Linked DNA regions of Homo sapiens: all the other regions are linked to region 1. Evidence: promoter capture Hi-C in human tissues and cell types (Jung and others, 2019). All regions are on one chromosome and are shown on one strand. The core of a region is centred on a gene start or on the middle of the fragment in contact, and the rest is flanking DNA. Distances in the headings are between cores, read along the strand shown.

Region 1 (3,512 bases), core at 725-3,224:
CCTCCAGTGTCTCCCTGTCTCCACCCTCTTTGGCAAGGTGCACCACGACGCCCTTTTGAACCCTGGATCCCAGACCCTGTACTGCCAGAGAAACTGAGGCAACTGTGGGCTCCCTCTAGCTCTGAGAGAGGAACCTCTTCGCTGGGGAGACTCTTGATGGGGTGAGACGCAGGGACATCTGCCGGGGAACCAGAGGACAACCCAATCCTGGGGTTCCTCAGGTGGGGTTGGGGGGCTGGGGATGGAGAATTCTGTGGGGAGGAGGCTTAAGTGGAGGGTGATTTGGGGGAGAGGAAAAAGATGACTGGGAGATTCTGGAGAAAGAGATTCTAGGGGCTGGGCGCGGTGGCTCACGCCTGTAATCCCAGCACTTTGGGAGGCTGAGATGAGTGGATCATTTGATGTCAGGAGTTCGAGACCAGTCTGGCCAATATGGTGAAACCCCGTCTCTACTACAAATACAAAAATTAGCCGGGCGTGGTGGTGCATGCCTGTAATCTCAGCTACTCAAGAGGCTGAGGCAGGAGAATCGCTTTAACCGGGGAGGCAGAGGTTGCAGTGAGCAGAGATCATGCCACTGCACTCCAGCCTGGGCGACAGAGCAGGACTCTGTCTCAAAAAAAAGAAAAAAAAAAAACAAAAAACAGAGAGATTCGGCCGGGCGTGGTGGCTCACGCCTGTAATCCCAGGACTCTGGGAGGCTGAGGCGGATCACATCACCTGAGGTCAGGAGTTCGAGACCAGCCTGGCCAACGTGGTGAAACCCCATTTCTACTAAAAATACAAAAAACGACCAGGGCGTGGTGGTAGACGCCTGTAATTCCAGCTACTCGGGAGCCTAAGGCAGGAGAATCTCTTGAACCCGGGAGGCGGAGGTTGCAGTGAGACGAGATCGCACCACTGCACTCTAGCCAGGGCAACGAGCGAAACTCCGTCTCAAAAAAAAGAGAGAGATTCTAGGGTGGGGACGGGGAAGAGGTTAATTCTTGGGGGAGGGTCTCTTAGGAGAGGGGGATTCTAACGGAGGGAAAACTCCAGGGAAGGCAGTTGCTGGGAAGAGGAGTCTCGGAAGGGAAATAAACTCAGGAGAAAGGTAGATTTTGAGGGACGGGTCTCTGAGAGAAAAGTTTTTGTGGATTTGCGGGGCGGGGTGTTCTGGGAAAGGGGGATTTGCCGGGAAAGGGGGATTTGCCGGGAAAGGGAGATTCTGGAGGAGGGAGATTCCAGGGGTACTGGGTCCTGACAAGAGAAAGATTCTGGGAAGGGTGACTGAGGGGACGAGGACCGAATGGAGGGAGATTCAGGGAAAAGGGGGGTCTAAGTTGAGCACTCTTAAGAGGGACATTTGGGGTTGGCCATCTGAGAGAAGGATGGGAAACATTCTGGGAAGAGGAAACTGAAAGGAAGGACATTCTGGTGAAAGGGAGATTCTGAGGGGAAGGGGCTCTGAGGGGAAAAGGATTCTGGGAGAGGATCCCCAAGGAGGGGGATTCTAGGGAGGATAGGATTCTGGAAGTCCTTAATCTGAGAATCCAGCCAGATTTCTTGCAGTAGATTCCAAAGGAAGATTCTGATGCGGGGGATTCGGGGAGGAGGGAGTCCAGAGGGGAGAAAGATTACAGGTGTTGGGAGGGTGGGAACTGATTTAAAGAAAGGGCGAAGGGAGATTATTAAAGAGCCAGAATGCAAAGAAGAGCTGCGGTAGTCGACTACAGAGGACGCGAAGCACACTCCCGCAGCCTTCCCTTCAGTCCGCACACGACACTCCCAGGCCCCGCCCCTTCCGCCCACAGAGCCCGCCACTTCCGCCTCACAGGGCCCGCCCGCTCTGAGCGCCTAAGGGCCTTCCCGCCGCTGACCAGACGCCCCGCCCGTTAGCCGCAACAGAAGCCGTAAAGCTCTCTCCCGTCGCGACGCAGTGCTCAAGGCGCCTGCGCAGACCCTGAAAAGCGGCCAGGGTGGCCCCTAGCTTTCCTTTTCCGGTTGCGGCGCCGCGCGGTGAGGTTGTCTAGTCCACGCTCGGAGCCATGCCGTCCAAGGGCCCGCTGCAGTCTGTGCAGGTCTTCGGACGCAAGGTGAGCCAGACGCCGGATGGGAAGGGGAGGGGAAGGAGAAGGCCAGGGTCTGGGAGAGGTCGGTGGGCAGGAATCTAGGGGGTAACATGGGAGCTGGAGCCGGAGCTCACGGGGCCCCTGTTTCTCTTGTATCTTACAGAAGACAGCGACAGCTGTGGCGCACTGCAAACGCGGCAATGGTCTCATCAAGGTGAACGGGCGGCCCCTGGAGATGATTGAGCCGCGCACGCTACAGTACAAGGTGCTGGGATCCGGCACCGGCGTTGAGTGGATGGAGGACTCTTGGAGACAGAGATGTTGTAGCTCTTGAAAGCTGGGGGGGCTGGCATCAGCAACGGGATGTTTAGAAGTTGTGTTGGGTGTAGAACAGTGGGGTATTTGGCAATAGAGCTGGGCTTGGGGTTCAGAAGATGTAAAAGCTGAGATGGGGTTGTTGAAGATTAAGGGTTTGCTTTGAGAACTGGGATGTTAGGAAGCTCACCTCACTGGGGCGGGGGGACCCAAAGGGTGAAGGGACACCGACTATTTTTTATTTTATTTATTTGTTTTGAGAGGGAGTCTCGCTGTGTCGCCCAGGCTGGAGTGTAGTGGCGCGATCTCGGATCACTGCAACCTTCGCCTCCCGGGTTAAAGCGATTCTCCTGCCTCAGCCTCTTGAGTAGCTGAGATTACAGGCATGCACCACCACGCCCGGCTAATTTTTGTATTTTTAGTAGAGACGGGGTTTCGCCATATTGGCCAGAGTGGTCTCGAACTCATTACCTCAGGTGATCCACCAGCCTCGGCCTCCCGAAGTGCTGGGATTGCAGGCGTCAGCCACCGTGTGCGGCCGAATTTGGGTCTGTTTAAATGCTTGCTTGTAAAAGGGGTTCCTCTGTTCCCTTTTTGGGACTCTCAATTTCTTTGGCTCAGAATGGAAAGAAACCAGAGTCTGATTTCTGCCCCTTCTGAACTCTACTACTTTTAAAAGAAAGAATATCTACATTGCAGGGTCAGTTAAAAAAATTTTTTTTGAGTTATAAGGTTCTTTTTTAAAAACAGTATCTTGCTGTCACCTACCCTGGAGTGCAATAGCACAATCCTAATGAACTGCAGCCTTAAACTCCTGAGTTGGAGATCCTCCCACCTCAGCCTTTCGGTTGCCAAGACTACAGGCACATCACCACGCCTGGCTCATTTGAGAAATATTTTTCTGTAGACGTGGGGTCTCACTTTATTGCCCAGGCTGGTCCTTGGTCTCATGTGATCCTTCTGCCTGGACTGGGATTACAGGTGTGATCACCATGCCTGGCCTAGAATTTAATAAAAATTCTGAGATTTCCTTTGTGTAGCAGATGTTGAATGTTACTGTTATTGGCTGTCACTGTATTTGAAGGATTTGTATGTGTACCCTCTGTTGAGTTTTGGGGACATAGCAGTGATCCAGATGACTTAAGG
Region 2 (3,512 bases), core at 622-3,121, 510 kb after region 1:
TCCATGAGTGGCTGCCTCTAGAGGCGCAAAGGCCAGCATCGGAGGACCCTGTGGCAGCCAGGAGCGGAAGGTTCATGTTCTGCAGGGGCGCCCAGCCCACTGTGCCCCCAGCCGTCACTTCTTCTGCACGTGGCCACAGTCGTACTTGCCACGCACAACGGTGAGCTTGACGCCTGGCAGGTCCTGGGTGCGGCCGCCCTCCACAAGGACAATCTGGTGCTCCTGCAGGGTGTGGCCCTCCCCAGGGATGAAGCAGACGGCCTCGCGGCCAGTGCTGAGCCGCACTCGACAGCACTTGCGATTGGCTGAGTTGGGCTTCTTCGGCTTGCGGGTAAACGTGCACAGGACCACACCCTTCAGCTGCGGCCGGCCTTCCGTGGGGCCCAGCTTCCGAGGCGGCCGCTTGGGGGGCCCCAGGCGGTGCATCTGGTTCAGGGTAGCCATGGAGCAGGTAGCCCAGAGCCGGGGAACCAGAGCTGGGCCTGGAGAGGGCCGAAAGGGGTTATTATCCCAGAGAACAGATCTTAGAGTAGTAGCAACTCAATTTTGGTGTTTTAGGCATTGTTTAAAGCACTTTACAAAGATGCATTTGTTCACATCTAATGTTATCTACAGACAAAAGTAACTCTTTATTCTTCAAGGAAGCATTACCTTTTTTTTTTTTTTCTTTTTTTTTTTTGAGACAAAGTCTCACTCTGTCGCCCAGGCTGGAGTGCAGTACCTCAATCTTGGCCCACTGCAACCTCTGCCTCCTGGGTTCAAGCAATTCTCCTGTCTCAGCCTCCTGAGCAGCTGGGACTACAGGCACCCACCACCACGCTCGGCTAATCTTCGTATTTTTAAGTAGAGACGGGGTTTCACCATGTTGGTCAGGCTGGTCTCGAACTCCTGACCTCGGCCTCTCAAAGTGCTGGGATTACAGGCGTGAGCCACCACGGCTGGCCAGGAAGCATTATTTTTAATGCTGTTTAAAATAATAGTAGGCTCAGTGGCTCATGCATGTAATCCTAGCACTTTTGGAGGCTGTGGAGGGTCACTTGAGCTCAGGAGTTAAGGCCAGACTGGGCGACACAGGGAGACCTCCCTCTCTACAAAGAATCAAAAAGTTAGCTGGTTGTGGTTCTGCAGGCCTGTGGTCCCAGCTACTTGGGAGGCTGAGGCGGGAGGATCACTTGAGCCCAGGAGGTCGAGACTGCAGTGAGCTGTGATCACACCGCTGCACTTCAGCCTGGGCGACAGAGGGAGATCTTAAATAAATAAATAATAAAACTGACCCAAACGCCGCTTGACACGCAGTAGCCCTCCATGCAGCTGCTTCCCACCTCTTGCTCTAGCAGCCCTAGCTCTGCCAAAACCCCACCGTGTTTTTCCACCCCCGTTTCCCTCGGGGCTCCGACGGAGGCACACAAGTCCAAGAGCGAATAACCCTCCCCCTCTAGCCTCGTCCCTGAAGCCCAAGTCCCCCACTTACCACAAGTTAGGGACGTGTTGAGGCCATGGAGAAGGCCAGACCAGGACATCCTGCCACCTGGGCCGTCCCTGTGGTAGGGGATAAGAGACTCAGAAAGGAGGAAAAAGTGACCGATCCGCAAATGCTCCCCGATCCGCTCTCAGGACTTTCTGGCTTAAATCAAAGGAAATACCTCTATAGGTCTAACCACAGGCCCTCATGCTGCTAACAGAAAGTCCCTCCGTAAATTTAGCCTCGCTCTGAGTGGGTTCCCGAGGGCCCAACCACTCTCGCCCGCACGCAGGAAGAACTGGGAAACTGGGGAGATGGCCTGGTAGATTTGGAGGACCCCAGGATTCCACCGACCTCACAGGACCTAAAGGTGAGGTCGCGGACACGCTGAATCCAGCTTCTAGCCTCTTCCGGGCGCTATCCGTGCAGGGATTGGCTGGTTCTGCCTCGCGTCACTGAAGAGGCGGGACACAGACGACGATTGGGCGACGAAGGACTCTATCGCGGTCAACTTTCCTCAGGATCTGATTGGCTCGTCACGGTCAGGTTCGCTGCCTTGCAATTGGTCTAAACGCGGAGTGGGCGGGACGAAGTGCCGCCTTGTTCCCGGTCCAAGATGGCTGCGTCCATGGCGCGGCGCTTGTGGCCTTTGCTGACTCGTCGGGGGTTCCGGCCCCGGGGAGGCTGCATCTCCAACGATAGTCCAAGGAGAAGTTTCACTACAGAGAAACGAAACCGGAACCTCCTGTACGAGTATGCGCGCGAGGGCTACAGCGCACTCCCTCAGCTGGACATAGAGCGGTTCTGCGCATGCCCAGAAGAGGCCGCACACGCCCTGGAGCTCCGCAAGGGGGAGCTGCGCTCGGCGGACCTGCCCGCGATCGTGAGTGCGCCTGCGCCGGCCGGGGGGCGCAGACGTTTGCTTTACGGAAGAATTGGGTTTGCAAGATGCCCTCCGGCAGGGGGCGAACCTGTAGTAGGAATTTTAGTTATTTCCCAAGTTAGCCAACGTCTTGTGCATGGCACCCACTTATGTGCCAGTTGTCCAGTGAGTGCTGAGGCCCTACTATGTGCCAAGAATGCCTACTGTGTCCTGGACACCCATTATGCGCTTGTTTCATACTGCTCGCTGGGTACCTCCTGTCCTTTAGGAACTTGCTATGTGACATTGCCCTCCGTGCTGCAACCTCATGCCAGCCTTTCCCTAAGACCACAAAGGAAAATGGGGAGCCAAGTGTGAATCGGACGGGGTCAGGGCTGGGGTGTGGTGGAGCTCTTGCGTTTAGAGAGAGAGGTAGGGAGAGTTGTGCACCTCCGCCACACATAGCAGGCAGTTAAATAGAGTTAATGAATGAATGAATGAATCCATTAATGAATGGTTCTATTAAACTGATACTTAAGGTGCAACTGCTATATTCCGGTGTTCTAGATGTTGCAAATATGCGGTGAATAATAATAAAATTGCTAGCACTTATAAAAGGGAATTAGGACCGGGTTCACAATATCTCTGTGTTGAGGTGCTAACGATAGTGGGGTCCCCACGTCTTCCCATTCCTCTCTTGGACTCCCCTCCCAGCCTGTTTGAAGTGCTTTATTCACTTTAACCTCGTTTAATTTTCACAGCAACTCTATGAAGTAGGTGCCATTATTTCTCCCATTTTATCAGAGGGGAAACTAAGGCTTCGAGAAGCTAATTCACTTGCGCTAGGTCATGCAACTGGGAAGTGGCAGAGTGGGAATTTTAACCTGTGCTTTCTGGCCTAGAATCCACTTTTTTTTTTTTTTTTTTTGAGATAGGGTGTTGTTCTGTCGCCCAGGATGGCAGGATGGAGTACAGTGGTACAATTATAGCTCACTGGAACCTTGAATTCCTGAGCTCAAATAATCCTCCCACTCAGCCTCCCGTGTAGCTGGGACTACAGGCAGACACCACCACGCCCGGCTAAACTTTTGTATTTTTTGTTGAGACAGGGACATACTATGTTGCCCAGGCTGGTCTTGAACTCCTGCGCCCAAGTGATCCTCCCACCCTGGCCTCCCAAAATGCTGA
Region 3 (3,512 bases), core at 745-3,244, 400 kb after region 1:
TTTTCAGTAGAGACGGAGTTTCGCCATTTTGGCCAGGCTGGTCTCACACTCCTGACCTCAAGTGATCCGCCTGCCTCAGCCTCCCAAAGTTCTGGGATTACAGGCGTGAGCCATCATGCCCGGCCTGGAGGTTTTATATTTAATTATTTCCCTGATACTACGTAATTTGCTCATTATGCCAACTGTTTATCATGTCTCTCCCTCTAGAAGGTAAGTTCTTTGTGGGGAAGAATCCATGTCTGGTTTTGTTTGTTGATGTCTTAAACTATGTATACAGCTCACGTTATGTCGAAGCCAAATAAAATATAGAGATATAGAGACAAATCTCTCGATTTAAAATGTTTTGTTGCGGTGGCTCATGCCTGCGATCCCAGCACTTTGGGAGGCTGAGGCGGGCAGATCACCTGAGGTCGGGAGTTTGAGACCATCCTGGCCAACATGGTGAAACCCCGTCTCTACTAAAAATACAAAAATTAGCTGGGCATGGTGGCATGCGCCTGTAATCCCAGCTACTCGGGAGGCTGAGGCAGGAGAATCGCTTGAACCCATGAGGCGGAGGTTGCAGTGAGACGAGATTGCATCACTGCCCTCCAGCCTGGGCGACAGAGCGAGACTCTGTCTCAAAAAAATAATAAAATGTTTTATTTGGGAAGCAAGAATTGACATTCGAGGCATCCACACAGACCAGGCGGTCTTCAGAACTTTCAAAGAACAAAGAGGTTAGAGGTTTTTATAAGAAACAGAAATGTTAGGTATTGTTTTGCAAGAAAGTTCATTGACACTAGCAACGTTCTGGGGAGCTGGCAAGTTCTGACTGGTAAGTGACAGCAGAGGGAAAAACTAGTCTTAGAGTCACGGCAGGTTTTTTCAGTACCAGTTAGACTGCTTCCAGGTTACAACAGGCAGTTTTAACAGCCAGGCTTGCAGAGAATCACTTTCTTGGAGCAATGGTATCTGCCCTAAGTGTTTTCCCCCCGGCCTCTCAACTTTGTTTTAGTTGGATATGACAAGAAGGATCCAATTCACATGATCAACTTTCACAATTTTTTTTTTCTGTTTGTTTTTTGAGACGGAGTCTCACTCACTCTTTTGCACAGGCTGGAGTGCAGTGGTGCAATCTCTGCTCACTGCAACCTCCCCCTCCCGGATTCAAGCAATTCTCCTGCCTAAGCCTCCAAATTAGCTGGGATTACAGGCGCGTGCTACCACGCCCAGCTAATTTTTGTATTTTTAGTAGAGACGGGGTTTCACCATGTTGGCCAGGCTGGTCTCGAACTTCTGACCTCAAGCGATCCGCCTGCCTTGGCCTCCCAAAGTGCTGGGATTACGGGCATGAGTCACCGCACCCAGCCACAATTGTATTTTTATTGGACAGAGCTGATCTAGAGGTTAAAATGAGGAATTCCGGAGCTAGGCTGGCTGGATTCAAATCCCTACTAGCTGGTGATCATAGACAAGCCACTTGGCCTCTGCTGGTCTCAGTTTTTTCACCTGTGAAGTAAAGGGCATAACAGCACCTACTTCATGGGGTTGCCACCCTGGCTGGCAGTAAAACCGTCCATAAAAGTTGGCTGGTGTTACTATTGGTTGCATTAATTTTTAGCAGCCGGAGCCTGTTTTCTCCTGTGAAATGAAGATAACCACGCCCGACCTTAAAGGTGATGGAAATTTTTTAACACGTTAACGGATACGAGGCCTCCCACTCAGAAGCCTGACCAAAATAACAATGGTTGCTCAGAGCCAGACGTCTCATTGCTACTAACGAATTAGGGACACTTCAAGGGGCCGGCTGGAGGGGACGGCTGTGAGCAGCAGGCCTTGGCTCCTGGCTGCACCTGGCCCCGTCGCGGGAAGCAGGTTGGGTTTGGAGAGCGGGAGGGAGCAGGCGGGAGGGGCTGGCGAGTAAGAAAGAGGATGCAGGGGTGGGTGAAGCTGGCTAGTAAGAGGGGAGGGGCCGGCGAGTAAAAAGGACGCAGAGGGGCGTGGGGAGCTTGCGGCACAGCTAGGGCATCCCGGCGAGGAGCGCCGCCAGGCCCCGGGGTAGGACTTGGGGTGCGGTGTCGGTGCGGCCGCCGAGGGGGGCTGATTGCATGCAATTCGGGGCATACACACAGACCGCGGGGTCTCCGGGATATCGGGGCTATCAAGGACGGGCTGGGGGATGGGGACTTGGGGACGGGGCCCAGGGATGGTGAAGACGGGGGTGCGGCTGGCAGAATCAGGGCAGGCAGAGGCTGCGCGCCGCGGAGGCTGCTGGTCCCTGACGCCTTGACCCTTCCTCTCCCGCAGCCACAGCCGGGCCTGGCGGGGGGACCATGGGCGCCTCGGTCTCCAGGGGCCGGGCCGCCCGGGTCCCCGCGCCGGAGCCGGAACCCGAAGAGGCGCTGGACCTGAGCCAACTACCCCCAGAGCTGCTTCTGGTGGTGCTGAGCCACGTCCCCCCGCGCACGCTGCTCGGGCGCTGCCGCCAAGTGTGCCGGGGCTGGCGAGCCCTGGTGGACGGCCAGGCCCTGTGGCTGCTGATCCTGGCCCGCGACCACGGCGCCACCGGCCGCGCGCTGCTGCACCTCGCCCGCAGCTGCCAGTCTCCCGCCCGTAACGCCAGGCCTTGCCCCCTGGGCCGCTTCTGCGCGCGCAGACCCATCGGACGCAACCTTATTCGCAACCCCTGCGGCCAAGGTGGGATCTCGGAAGAGGAAGTCCAGGATGCTGGGCCACAGTGGGAGCGGTAGCGGGGCCGGAGGGGCGGGGCCGCACTGGGACCGGTACTAGGGGCCGCAGGGGCAGGGCCGCAGTGGGACCGGTGGGAGGAGTCGGAGAGGCGGGGCAGCATTGGGAGCCGGTGTGAGGTGCCGGAGGGGCGGGGCAGCATTGGGAGCCGGTGGGAGGTGTCGGAGGGACGAGGCAGCATTGGCACGCAGGGTGCAGGGCTGACTGGGCAGGGCTTCACCGTTTGCCTGTGGGAGGGGTGGGAGTGGGGCAGTTCTGGGAGCCCGAGAGAGGGGTTGGAGGGGCAGGGCTTTGCTGCAAATCAGTGAGAAGGGCCAGAGGAGCGGGGCTTTGCCCTGAGCTGGTGGGAGGGGAAGGGGGCGGGGCCTCGGTGGGAAGGGTCAGGTGAGTGAGCTGCACTGTGAGCACGTGGGAGGGGCTAGGGGCGGGGTCTCACTAGGAACCAACAGGCGGGCGACTGGAACTTGGGCACAAGCCTTTTTTATTTCACAGAAGGCCTCCGAAAGTGGATGGTGCAACACGGTGGGGACGGCTGGGTGGTGGAGGAAAACAGGACAACCGTGCCTGGGGCCCCTTCTCAGACGTGCTTCGTGACTTCATTCAGGTGAATGCCCCTGCTATCCAAAGGTCCGGCCCCTTGTTGAGAAAGGCCTGCCTGTTCTCATTACCCTGTCTCCTGCATTCCCAGCTGGTGTTGCAAGAAGCAGGTCTTGGACCTAGAGGAGGAGGGTCTGTGGCCAGAACTGCTGGATAGTGGCAGGATTGAGATTTGTGTCTCTGAC
Region 4 (3,512 bases), core at 317-2,816, 350 kb before region 1:
ATTACAGGCGTGAGCCACCGCGACTGGCCTGCTAAGACATTTTCTTAGTTGCCTGGTGTGTAGGAGTCTCTCCACTCACTTCTGACTTTCTTCCAGAGAGAACTGATGTAGGCACAGACGTTTATTCAGTCCATCAATCAGGAACCTCCTATGTCACTGTGTTCCTGGCGTCACTTCTCTGAATACAATCTTTAATGCTGAAATTTGGGTGAGGAGGCACTCAAATGGAGTTCAGAAAATGCAGGCAATGATGAAAGGTAGGGGAGTTCCTTTATTGTTTTTTCTACAGAAAAAGATAAATTCCCAGCCCCTGATCTACTTAGACTGGGGTCAAACCATTAAAGATGTGTGGAAATATGTCTCAGTGGGTCAGATCCAGACCTCCCCTAGAAGTGATGTGTAAGAAGTTACACTGAAGATTGGAGCTGGTCATACTCAAGGCATACTGGAAAAAGATATTGATTTAGGCTGCTGGTGTCATCTTCCCCTGGCAAGTCATAGATCTTTACAAATTCATCTATTTCAAAGAGAGTGGAGGCCCAAGGAGGATTTGAAGCCCCCAGACATATCTGTTCAATGTCATATGACTGAGAATCCCAGGATGAAACCCTCGCAGAGGCGCTGGCTCCTCCAGGATTCTTGATACCAGAAGGCTCACGTAGATCATGGTCATTTGCATCAGAGATTCCAGGACTTACTGGACGAATGTTTGCAGTAGTTATGGCTGAGGGAGTCTCCTCCTTCTTCACTGAAGTTGTCTGGTTTGCTGGCCCTAGTGATGGCCGTGTCTGCATTTGCTGCCGCTGCTGCCTCTTCCATTTGGCACGCTGGTTCTTGAACCAGATCTAAGGAGGGAGGAGGGGGGAGGTTAATAATGGATGTTGAGTATAAAGGGGCATCCTCATGTTCCTCAGGAATTCGGTTTTTTGGTGTGAGAGAGAGTCTCACATTTATTGGAACAAGGGAAGCCCTTTCTACTCTCTGCTGTCCTGGGTTTCAAGGGAAAAGTGGGTGTAGGATTGTACTAGCAATGGGTGGAATATGACCTAGATTGTGATGTATTAAATAGAAGGGTGTTTTTATTAGTGGTGTATTTTTTTTTTTTGAGACAAGCTACCACTCTGTCACCCAGCCTGGAGTGCAGTGCTGCAATCATAGCTCGCTGCAGCCTTGAACTCCTGGGCTTAAGCAATCCTCCTATCTCAGTCTCCCAAGTAGCTGGGACTACAGCCATGTGCCTCCATGTCTGGTTAATTTTTAATTTTTGTTTGTAAAGACATGGTCTTGCTATGTTGCCCAGGCTGGTCTTAAACTGGGCTTAAGCGATCCTCCTGCCTCCACCTCCCAAAGTGCTGGGATTACAAGTGTGAGCCACCATTCCTGGTGCCCAGAGAAAGTATTTTAAAGTCAGAGTATGGGGTGAGAGTTTAGCTTGGGTCATCTTTAGGGTTCATCCAGGTGTTCTCCCATGAATACTTTGTGGGAACTTAGTGACAGGCATCTGGATGACTGTGATGGTCCTGATTAAGCAGAACCCATCCTGAATACACAAGAACAGACCCAAATGGGAGTATCTGAGATCCAGCCTCAAAGAGTCCTGTGTAGCATGGTGGGTCTGGAGTTGGAAAGGTCTGGGTTCAAATTCCAACTCTTGTGTTTATAATGCTTGGAAGACAGCTCTTCTATGTGAGCTTTAGTGTTCCTCAATAAAGTGGGTGCTCATGACAATAAAAATATAAAGTGCTTAACATCTGTCCTTACACATAGCAATTGCCAATAAATAGGAACTGTTATAACAATGATCAAAAGTGTGTGTGAAGCTCTGGGTTAGGCGTGCTACCTACAGACACACTTGGGAACAGACCTTTACTACGGATAGATCAAGTTGTAGCTTTGAAGCCAGTTTCCCCATTGTAGCCAAACTTGGGTGCATGGTCTTTTCAAGCAATTCTCTCAATGCTGTGAGTTGTTTGGAGAGAAATCTTGTGCGTGGCCGACGATAACGCCTTGGCCCTTCTGCAGAGGGAACAGATAAAAGGCTTTCATTAAAAAAATTCGGAAGGAAATGAGGAGAGTACTACATCAAGGGAACACCTGTGGGACAAAAGAATCTGAACAACAGCCTTGAGCCCTAGACCGTCCCTCTGACAGAGCCTACACAAATGAGAAGGAACCAGAAAACCAAATCTGGTAATATGACAACACAAGGTTCTTTAACATCCCCAAAAAATCACATTAGTTCATCAGCAATGGATCCAAACCAAGAAGAAATCCGTGATATACCTGAAAAAGAATTCTGAAGGTCAGTTATTAAGCTAATCAAGGAGGCACCAGAGAAAAGTGAAGCCCAATTTAAGGAAATTAAAAAAAAAGATACAAGAAATGAGGGGAGAAATCTTCAGTGAAATAGAGAGCATAAATAAAAAATAATAAAAACTTTAGGAGACAATGGACGCCCTTTTATCCACTAGACCTAAGAAATGAGATAGACAGCAACACAATGACCAAGAACCCAAAAGCAAATGCAATAAAAACAAAGATAAATAGCTAGGACTTTATTAAACTAAAGAGATTTTGCATGGCAAAAGGAACAGCAGAGTTCTAGACAACCCACAGTCTAGAAGAAAATCTTCACAATCTATACATTTGACAAATGACTAATATCCAGAATCTGCAACGAACTCAAACAAATTAGCAAGAAAAAAACCAAACAATTCCATCAAAAAGTGGGCTAAGGACATGAATGACATGAATAGATAATTCTCAAAAGATATACAAATGGCCAACAAACATGAAAAAATGCTCAACATCACAAATGATTAGGGAAATGCAAATCGAAACCACAAGAATGGCCATAATAAAAAAAATAAAAAAAAATAGATGTTGGCGTGGATGCAGTGAACAGGCAACACTTCTACACTGCTGGTGGCAGTGTAAACTAGTACAGCCACTATGGAAAACAGTGTAAAGATTCCTTCAAGAACTATAAGTAGAACTACCATTCGATCCAGCAATCCAACTACTGGCTATCTACCCAGAGGAAAATAAGTCATTATACAAAAAAGATACTTGCACATGTATGTTTATAGCAGTACAATTCGCAATTGTAAAAATGTGGAACCAACCCAAATGTCCATCAATTGAGTGGATAAGCTGTGGTGTGTGTGTGTGTGTGTGTATATATATATATGTATATATATATAATAATTTATGTATAATGTATATAAATTATATTGTATATAATTATATATAATACAAATATTATAATTTATATATATATAATTTATATATATATAAATTATATGATGGAATGCCACTCAGCCATAAAAATGAATTAATGATATTTGTAACAACCTGGATTAGATTGGAGACCATTATTCTAAGTGAAGTAACTCAGGAATGGAAAACCAAACATCATATGTTCACACTCATAAGTGGGAGCTAAGCTATGAGGATGTAAGGGCATAAGAATGACACAATGGACTTTGGGGATTCGGGGGAAAGGGTGGGAA
Region 5 (3,512 bases), core at 688-3,187, 300 kb before region 1:
CCTTGCTGTATAGAGTGTTAGAACATCGCTGGAGGAACAGGAAAAACAGAACACAAAATAGAAAGAGTGCTCTGTAACAAGAAGCATGGTTGCTGGGTTCCAAACTGTGATTAAATTTTTTAAAAATTTTAACTGTATTATGACCTTTATTTTTAAAATGTTTATACAAATCATTTAAGTAATATAATACCTTCTTGTGGGTAAAATTCAAACATTACAGATTTATACCTTGACCTCATTTCTTCTAAACCCAGTGTCCCCCCCTACAAGGAATGCCTTCTTTTGACATTTTCTAGTGCATTTATGAATGTTTGTGTGTACTTATGAGATCAATTTTATTTTTTTGTCGTTAAAATAATTGGTCTCGTATTATGCATGTTTTCTTCATGCCTTTTCATACTACAGCATTTCTTGAAGATATAGCCATGCCAGTACTGATAATTTTGTTTTTCTTTTATATATAGTCTATGTACTGGCTACTTAATTAAAAACTGTACTGTAAAAAATTTCAAATGTTTGCAAAAGGAGAGAACTGTCATCCCCAGATTATTTTAGAGCAAATCCCAGATATTATATAATTTCATACACAAAACCTAAAGTTTTTCGGGGGAACAGTGTGTGCTTGGAAAGATGTAGTTGAAAAGAAAGACTGAAAGCAAGTCGTAGGGCATAATGGATTTCTGAAGAAATAGTTGCAACCAGCAGAAGTATGGGCTATTGTGCAGAGGATATGGAAGTTAAAGAAGATCAATCTCTCTGCATCACTGAAAGGATTGCTGGAATGCCTGAGAAGTAAATAACATCAACATCTTTATCCACAGCTTACTAGGTGGCCAGACGCCCTGAACTGATATTTCTTCCCCAGTTCAGATGAATAGCTGGGATATTACTCAAAATTCTATTGCATATCTGTTGCAAGGAAAAGCAGTTCCTCTTTCCCTTCTGTGGTAATTTCTTACAAGCTACAGTTCTGGGCAGGGTGTGAGGGTGGTTGCCTAGAACGGGGTTTCCAAAGCTCCTTAATTGTGGCCTCTGACCCTTTTCATTGCTTCCATGTCCATACCCAGAGTCAAAACCCAAGGAATGCAGTGGGATGACATTACAAATTAATCTTAAGGAAATACGTTATATACCAAAAGAACTGTGTGATTGTGCTGATTTATATGAGCAGAATCTTGGAGTGCATGCTTGGAAATGAATTGTCAAGGTTTTAGATCAGGGAAAGTGGAATTTATTGTCGGGTCAAGCACAACTAATATTAATGCTAATGCATCCTCATCGCTTAGCTCCCACTTATGAGTGAGAAATCTCACCTTTCTCCAAGAATCTGCAGGAGAACGACAGCCTCAGATTTTGATTCACATGAAAAGAAATAGGGAAATAAGAGGGCGTACCTAAAGCCCAGGTGTCTGAGAGACAGAGTGGGAGTGGCTCTCACCTGGCAGAGCCAAGGGATCTGAGGGTGGGTAAAGAAGACACAAGTGTTTTCTCTACTTCTGTCCCCAGGTCCTGCGAATGATCAAGATCTATGCTCTCCCAGAACCACTGGAGAAGGAGGAGGAGGATTTTCTTTCAAAGCCAAGTGCCTTGCCCCCAGGATCTCCAGCTTTTTACCATTGCACAGGTTAGGAGAACGCACACCTTCCTGGTAGATTCTGCACAGTGGAGAAAAGGCTTCATGAGAAGCATGGAGGCTGGAACTCACACCACTCATCCTCACTCCATCGTCTTTATCTGTGCATTTCCCTGGTGACCCCTTCCTCCTCCAGTACCTCCCTCACTGTCGTTTCTGCTGCATCACAGGCACAGGCCTCCAAACAGGTGTGGTTGTGACTGAGTCTGTTTCTGACACCCCACCCCTTCTCACTGTGTGAGGAAACCTTCCTGGGAGGGGCTTGGAATCAGGAATAAAGCCAGAGGCAGGGCTGATAGGGGCCATTTAAATTCTGCAGCTCAGAGATTCACACAGAAGTCTGGACACAATTCAGAAGAGCCACCCAGAAGGAGACAACAATGTCCCTGCTACCCGTGAGTTAAAAAGGCACAGCCTTCAATAATCTCAGGTCACACAGAAAAGGGAAGAGGGAGATTTTATGGGATGAAAATATGAAAATTTCTACTGTGAATGCTTTACTGAGAGTTGTGGGTGTGTGGAAGAGAGACCCTAGGGCTATGGTATCTGAGATGCTCCTGGGGTAGGGGGGTAGGGGGTGTGGATGCTGGAACATTGTGACCCTCTGTGAGCATGTGATGGTATCTGATGAGAGTAAACTCTGCTAAAAATGATGTGACTTTAGACGGGATGTGTATGGCCCTCCAGGATATGGGTGGGTGTGTAAGTGATTGTAATCAGGTGACTGTGTTTTGTCTTCATGACTGTGATGTGAGTGTGTGTGTGAGCACAGCCGGACCAGTGCATGAGCATCTTTATATGCACAGTGAGCAGGTGTGTGTGACTCAGTGAGTGGCACGGCTCTGTGTGACTGTGAGTGTGTGTGCTGGAATGTGACTGGGTGTTGAACTGGGAACATGCATGTGGCCTTCTGTGCATGTGAAGGTTCCTCCCCACATAGCAGTACTCTGTCTAACTTCCCTTGTGCATCACTGTGGATCCCCGGTGACAGAACTTGTGGGATCTTGGGGCCCTTGAGTTACCGAGGACTTATCTCTGAGCATTTATGAGAGCAGAATGCATGAATTCTCAGGTGCCTTTTCCCAAGCAGAATGGGGGTGAGAAACAGACGATGGGGCTGATGGTTCCTTAGGTGGAATCTGCACACAGTGACCACTGGCTCCTGCCTCCAGCCTCAGGTCTCTCCCTGTCTCCTACCCTAGCCTGGCCTTCCCATTGAGTGCCAGGATGCTAGAGAAGGACATTGAGGGACTTGATTTAAGAGACTGAATCACCCAAAACCAGGAAGGTACAAGGCAGAGCTTACAGTGGATATTCATCAAGATGTTTGCTGAGGCCTGTAGTCTCAGCACTTTGGGTGGCCGAATTGAAAGGCCCATGTCAGGCCAGGACTGGTAGACCAGCCTGGGAGACATAGCAAGATTTCATCTTTCCAAAAATTTAAAAATTTATTGAATGTGGTGTTGCATACCGTAGTTCCAGCTGCTGGGGGGCATATGCAAGAGGTTCACTGAAGCCCAGGCCTTCAAACCTGCAGTAATTTTTTTTTTTTTTTTTTGAGACAGAGTCTCGCTCTGTTTCCCAGGCTGGAGTGCAGTGGTGCAATCTCGGCTCACTGCAACCTCCACCTCCCGGGTTCAAGCGATTCTCATACCTCAGCTTCCCGAGTAGCTGGGATTACAGGCTTGTGCCACCACTCCTGGCTAATTTTTGTATTTTCAGTAGAGATGGGGTTTCTCCATGTTGGCCAGGCTGGTCTCGAACTCCTGACCTCAAGTGATGCACCCACCTTGGCCTCCCAAAGTGCTGAGATTACAGGCGTGAGCCACCACGCCCAGCCTGCAGTGAGTTTTGATGGTGCCACTGCATTCCAGCCTAG
Region 6 (3,512 bases), core at 574-3,073, 290 kb after region 1:
ATCTGGGTGGTAGTTTCATGGCTGTTTGCTTTATAATTATTCATTAAACTGAACATGGAGGTTTTACACACTTTTCTGTACACATGTCAGATTTTACACCACCATGCAGGAAAAACCGGGAGAGCGATCCTGACAACTGAAAGCTTTCTCTGTATTTGCATGTGCCTGCAGTCTCTCCTCATTTCTTTACCGTCTCTCTTTACAATGAGCACAAGTGCACACACACACACACTCACACACATGCACACTTCCCAAAGCTGTTAACTTCCACCATAACCACAGCAGCATCCTCTGGCCCCTTGTAACTCCTGGCCTGTTTCCTGCAAGGAAGACAAAGGCCGGGAAGCAGCCGGCCCCTGAGCCCTCGGACTCATGCCACAACAGCCAGGTCTCTCCACATACCAGGCACTCTCAATCCTGCTCCAATCCCAGTCCCCAGGAAACCCTTCTGGCCTCCAGAACAAACCCAGATCAACAAGTCCCTGCCCTGGGGCACCACAGCTGGTCACCCAGAGTGGAAGGAGTTATTACTGAAGATTTGGGTCAAGCATCCCCCCGGCAGGGACGGCTTCTGGCTGGCTCATCGGTGCCCCGTGCTGGAGACAGGACAGCAGTGAGACCACTACAAAGTGTTACGTGCAGGCTCCATCCTGGTGCAAAAGAAGGCAGCGAGGAGGGTGCCGTTCACACGGTGTGTGAAGCAGGAGAGTGAAGCTCAGAGAGAAGACATGTCAGCCCTCAGTCACACGGCGAGTGTATCAGAACTGGGATTCCGTGGCAAGTCTGACCAGGACCAAAGTCCACTCACTTAACCATATCTATCTATCTATCTATCTATCTATCTAATCTAATCTATCTATCTATCTATCTGTCTGTCTGTCTGTCTGTCTGTCTATCTATCTATCTATCTATCTACCTGAGATAGGGTCTTGCTCGCTCTATCTTATCTATCTATCTATCTATCATCATAGGTTTTGCTCTGTCACCCAGGCTGGAGTGTAGTGGTGCAATCAGAGCTCACTGCAGCCTCCAACTCCTGGGCTCAAGCAATCCTCCCACCTCAGCCTCCTGAGTAGCTAGGACCCCATCATAGCTCACTGCAGCCTCCAACTCCTGGGCTCAAGCAATCCTCCCACCTCAGCCTCCTGAGTAGCTAGGACCACAGGCACATGCCACCACGCCCTTTTACATTTTAAATAATTTTTAAATTATTTTAAAACAATAATTTTAAAAATGTTTTGTAGAGCAGAGGTCTCACTATAGCCCAGGCTGGTCTCAAACTCCTGGGCTCAAGTGATCTGCCCACCTCAGCCTCCCAGAGTGCTGGGATGTGAGCCACTGTGCCCAGTCATTTTCTTTCTTTTATTCATTCATGCACTCAACAATTCTTTTTTTTTTTTTTTTTTTTTTTTTTTTTTTGAGACAGAGTCTTGCTCTGTCACCCAGGCTGGAGTGCATTGGTGTGATCTTGGCTCACTGCAACCTCCGCCTCCTGGGTTCCAGCGATTCTCCTGCCTCAGCCTCCCAAGTAGCTGGGATTACAGGCACCTGCCACCTCGCCAAGCTAATTTTTTTGTATTTTTAGTAGAGACGGGGTTTCACTGTGTTGGCCAGGCTCGTCTCGAACTCCTGACCTCAGGTGATCCACCCACCTTTGCCTCCCAAAGTGCTGGGATTACAGGCGTGAGCCACCACACCCAGCCTTTTTTTTTTTTTTTTTTTAATGCTTCTACCCAGTGAGCAACGACTCCTTAATATGCACTTAGCAGGTGCCAGGCACTGTTCTAGGCACCAGGGACACAGCAGTGAATAAGACAAGAGTCTCTGCTCTCCTGGAGTTGACATTCTAGTGGGAACACAATATACAAGTAAACAAGTGGGAGAAGGGACAGAGAGTGACAAGGTGCTCTTTCAGAGGGCACAGTCAGGGAGGTCTCTAAAGGGGTGGCGTCTGAGCAAAGACGGGATACAGGTGAGGAAGCCATGCAGAGTACCAGGGAACAGCACTGAGGGTGGAGGGCATGGTCAGTGAGGAGGCCCCCAGGACTGGAATCCGAGTGGCTGGAAGGGAGCAGAGAATGGAGCAGCTGAGGTCAAGGAGGTTTATGTTAAAATGCAGAAGTGGAAGGGCAGCTCCCAGAGGCCCAGTCACCACAGCCCAAGGGACGTATGGCCACCATCAGGCTGTCAAGAAGGAAGCAGGTAGAGAGGCTGGGAAAGCCACCCAGGGTGACACAGGCAGCCAAGGGTAGAGCTGGGGTGGGAGACCACTCTGTTCTGAAGGTGTCACCACCACGCGATGCGGAAGGGGTTGCCAGGGTGGGTGGCAGCAGCTCTCAGCTGGAAGCCTGTGGCCCTAGCAAAGCAGGAACCAGAGGCCCACATGTTAATGCCACTGGTTTACTTGAAGCCGGGGCACCCAGCCTATTGCTCCCAGGCCCCGGGGGGTGGGGAAGGGGGGACCCGAGCCTCAGTCCTTTGGTCCCTCCCACCCTACTTCTGCTGGATCTGGGTACCAGCCTTACTAGGAGTGACTTCAGAGTGTTCTTCTCAACCCACTCGCTTTTTTAAAAAAAACTTAATTTTTACTTGAAAACTGAACTTGACAGTCATACAGACATGTAAGTAATTCTGATGCTCATCCAAGCAACCACCTAAGAAAGCGTGCTTGCCAGAAGAAACTGAACCTGCATCAGATCGAGCTTCTAGACCTAAGTCCTAACTTACAGGAAGCACAGAGACAGAGAACACGTGCAATGACACCACAAGGATGTATCAGCTGGCCCCAGACTGCAAAACTCCAGGACAAATGGCCTAGGTCGCCTGTAGAAAAACTACGACAACATGCACGCCAAAGAGCTGATGCCAGTATCTGAGCATGACGGCGCACACCTGTGGTCCCAGCTATTCAGGAGACTGAGGCGGGAGGATTGCTTGAGCAGGGGAGGTCAAGGCTGCACGTGAGCTCTGATCGCTCCACTGCACTTCAGCCTGGGTAACAAAGGGAACAAAACAAAACAAAAAAAAGAGGCCTATCAACCGGATGCAAAGTGTAGACCTTGTCCAGACCCAAATCAAACAAATGGGCCGGGCGCCGTGGCTCACGCCTATAATCCCAACATTTTGGGAGGCCGAGGCGGGTGGATCACTTGAGGTCAGGAGTTCGAGACCAGCCTAGGAAACTCTGTCTCTACTAAAAAATACAAAACTTAGCCAGGCGTGGTGGCGGGCGCCTGTAATCCCAGCTACTCGGGAGGCTGAGGCAGGGAGAAGTGCTTGAACCTGGGAGGCGGAGGTTGCAGTGAGCCGAGATCGTGCCACCGCACTCCAGCCTGGGAGACAGAGTGAGACTCTGTCTCAAACAACAACAACAAAAAACAAATGAAAAAGGATTATGGCAGGGTACGGTGGCTCACGCCTATAATTCCAGCACTTTGGGAGGCTGAGATGGTTATATCACTTGAGGTCAGGACTTCAAGACCAGCCTGATCAATATGGTGAGACTCCATCTC

The links. Contacts are between HindIII fragments. The study calls those that stand out against the background at their distance.
Region 2: a contact is called between the fragment with the promoter of MRPS12 here and the fragment with the promoter of RPS16 in region 1, in 1 of the 25 tissues and cell types used here (small bowel).
Region 3: the fragment with the promoter of FBXO27 here is called in contact with the fragment with the promoter of RPS16 in region 1 in 1 of the 25 tissues and cell types used here (liver).
Region 4: a contact is called between a fragment that was not itself captured here and the fragment with the promoter of RPS16 in region 1, in 1 of the 25 tissues and cell types used here (lymphoblastoid cells).
Region 5: the fragment with the promoter of CLC here is called in contact with the fragment with the promoter of RPS16 in region 1 in 1 of the 25 tissues and cell types used here (neural progenitor cells).
Region 6: a fragment that was not itself captured here is called in contact with the fragment with the promoter of RPS16 in region 1 in 1 of the 25 tissues and cell types used here (lymphoblastoid cells).

The regions. Positions count from the first base shown.
Region 1 is chr19:39,434,411-39,437,922 of GRCh38, reverse strand. RPS16 (ribosomal protein S16) reads left to right here and starts at 1,974. Exons shown (of 5, transcript NM_001020.6): 1 at 1,974-2,075; 2 at 2,215-2,316. The coding sequence starts at 2,028. RefSeq lists enhancers at 1-537, 2,201-2,780 and a silencer at 1,721-1,820. The HindIII fragment of the contact is 40,426 bases long and covers 1-3,512 here.
Region 2 is chr19:38,929,303-38,932,814 of GRCh38, reverse strand. It overlaps MRPS12 (mitochondrial ribosomal protein S12), which reads right to left and starts at 1,871. Exons shown (of 3, transcript NM_033362.4): 1 at 1,817-1,871; 2 at 1,472-1,539; 3 at 1-482. The coding sequence starts at 1,520. The coding sequence ends at 115. It overlaps SARS2 (seryl-tRNA synthetase 2, mitochondrial), which reads left to right and starts at 2,052. Exons shown (of 16, transcript NM_017827.4): 1 at 2,052-2,345. The coding sequence starts at 2,079. RefSeq lists an enhancer at 1,968-2,427. The HindIII fragment of the contact is 13,053 bases long and covers 1-3,512 here.
Region 3 is chr19:39,031,031-39,034,542 of GRCh38, reverse strand. FBXO27 (F-box protein 27) reads left to right here and starts at 1,994. Exons shown (of 6, transcript NM_178820.5): 1 at 1,994-2,040; 2 at 2,290-2,679; 3 at 3,223-3,334; 4 at 3,419-3,512. The coding sequence starts at 2,316. RefSeq lists silencers at 2,216-2,285, 2,346-2,495, 2,696-2,775, 2,926-3,165, 3,015-3,197 and enhancers at 2,107-2,899, 3,306-3,415. The HindIII fragment of the contact is 13,585 bases long and covers 1-3,478 here.
Region 4 is chr19:39,783,031-39,786,542 of GRCh38, reverse strand. LEUTX (leucine twenty homeobox) reads right to left here. Exons shown (of 3, transcript NM_001382345.1): 2 at 1,865-2,016; 3 at 252-845. The coding sequence ends at 408. Among named protein-coding and RNA genes, the nearest start is that of LEUTX, 5.9 kb to the right of the region's middle. The HindIII fragment of the contact is 5,263 bases long and covers 1-3,512 here.
Region 5 is chr19:39,736,454-39,739,965 of GRCh38, reverse strand. It overlaps CLC (Charcot-Leyden crystal galectin), which reads left to right and starts at 1,937. Exons shown (of 4, transcript NM_001828.6): 1 at 1,937-2,028. The coding sequence starts at 2,014. The HindIII fragment of the contact is 10,513 bases long and covers 1-3,512 here.
Region 6 is chr19:39,141,500-39,145,011 of GRCh38, reverse strand. The region is part of intron 1 of PAK4 (p21 (RAC1) activated kinase 4); the gene reads right to left. Among named protein-coding and RNA genes, the nearest start is that of PAK4-AS1, 6.7 kb to the right of the region's middle. RefSeq lists an enhancer at 1-922. The HindIII fragment of the contact is 5,182 bases long and covers 1-3,512 here.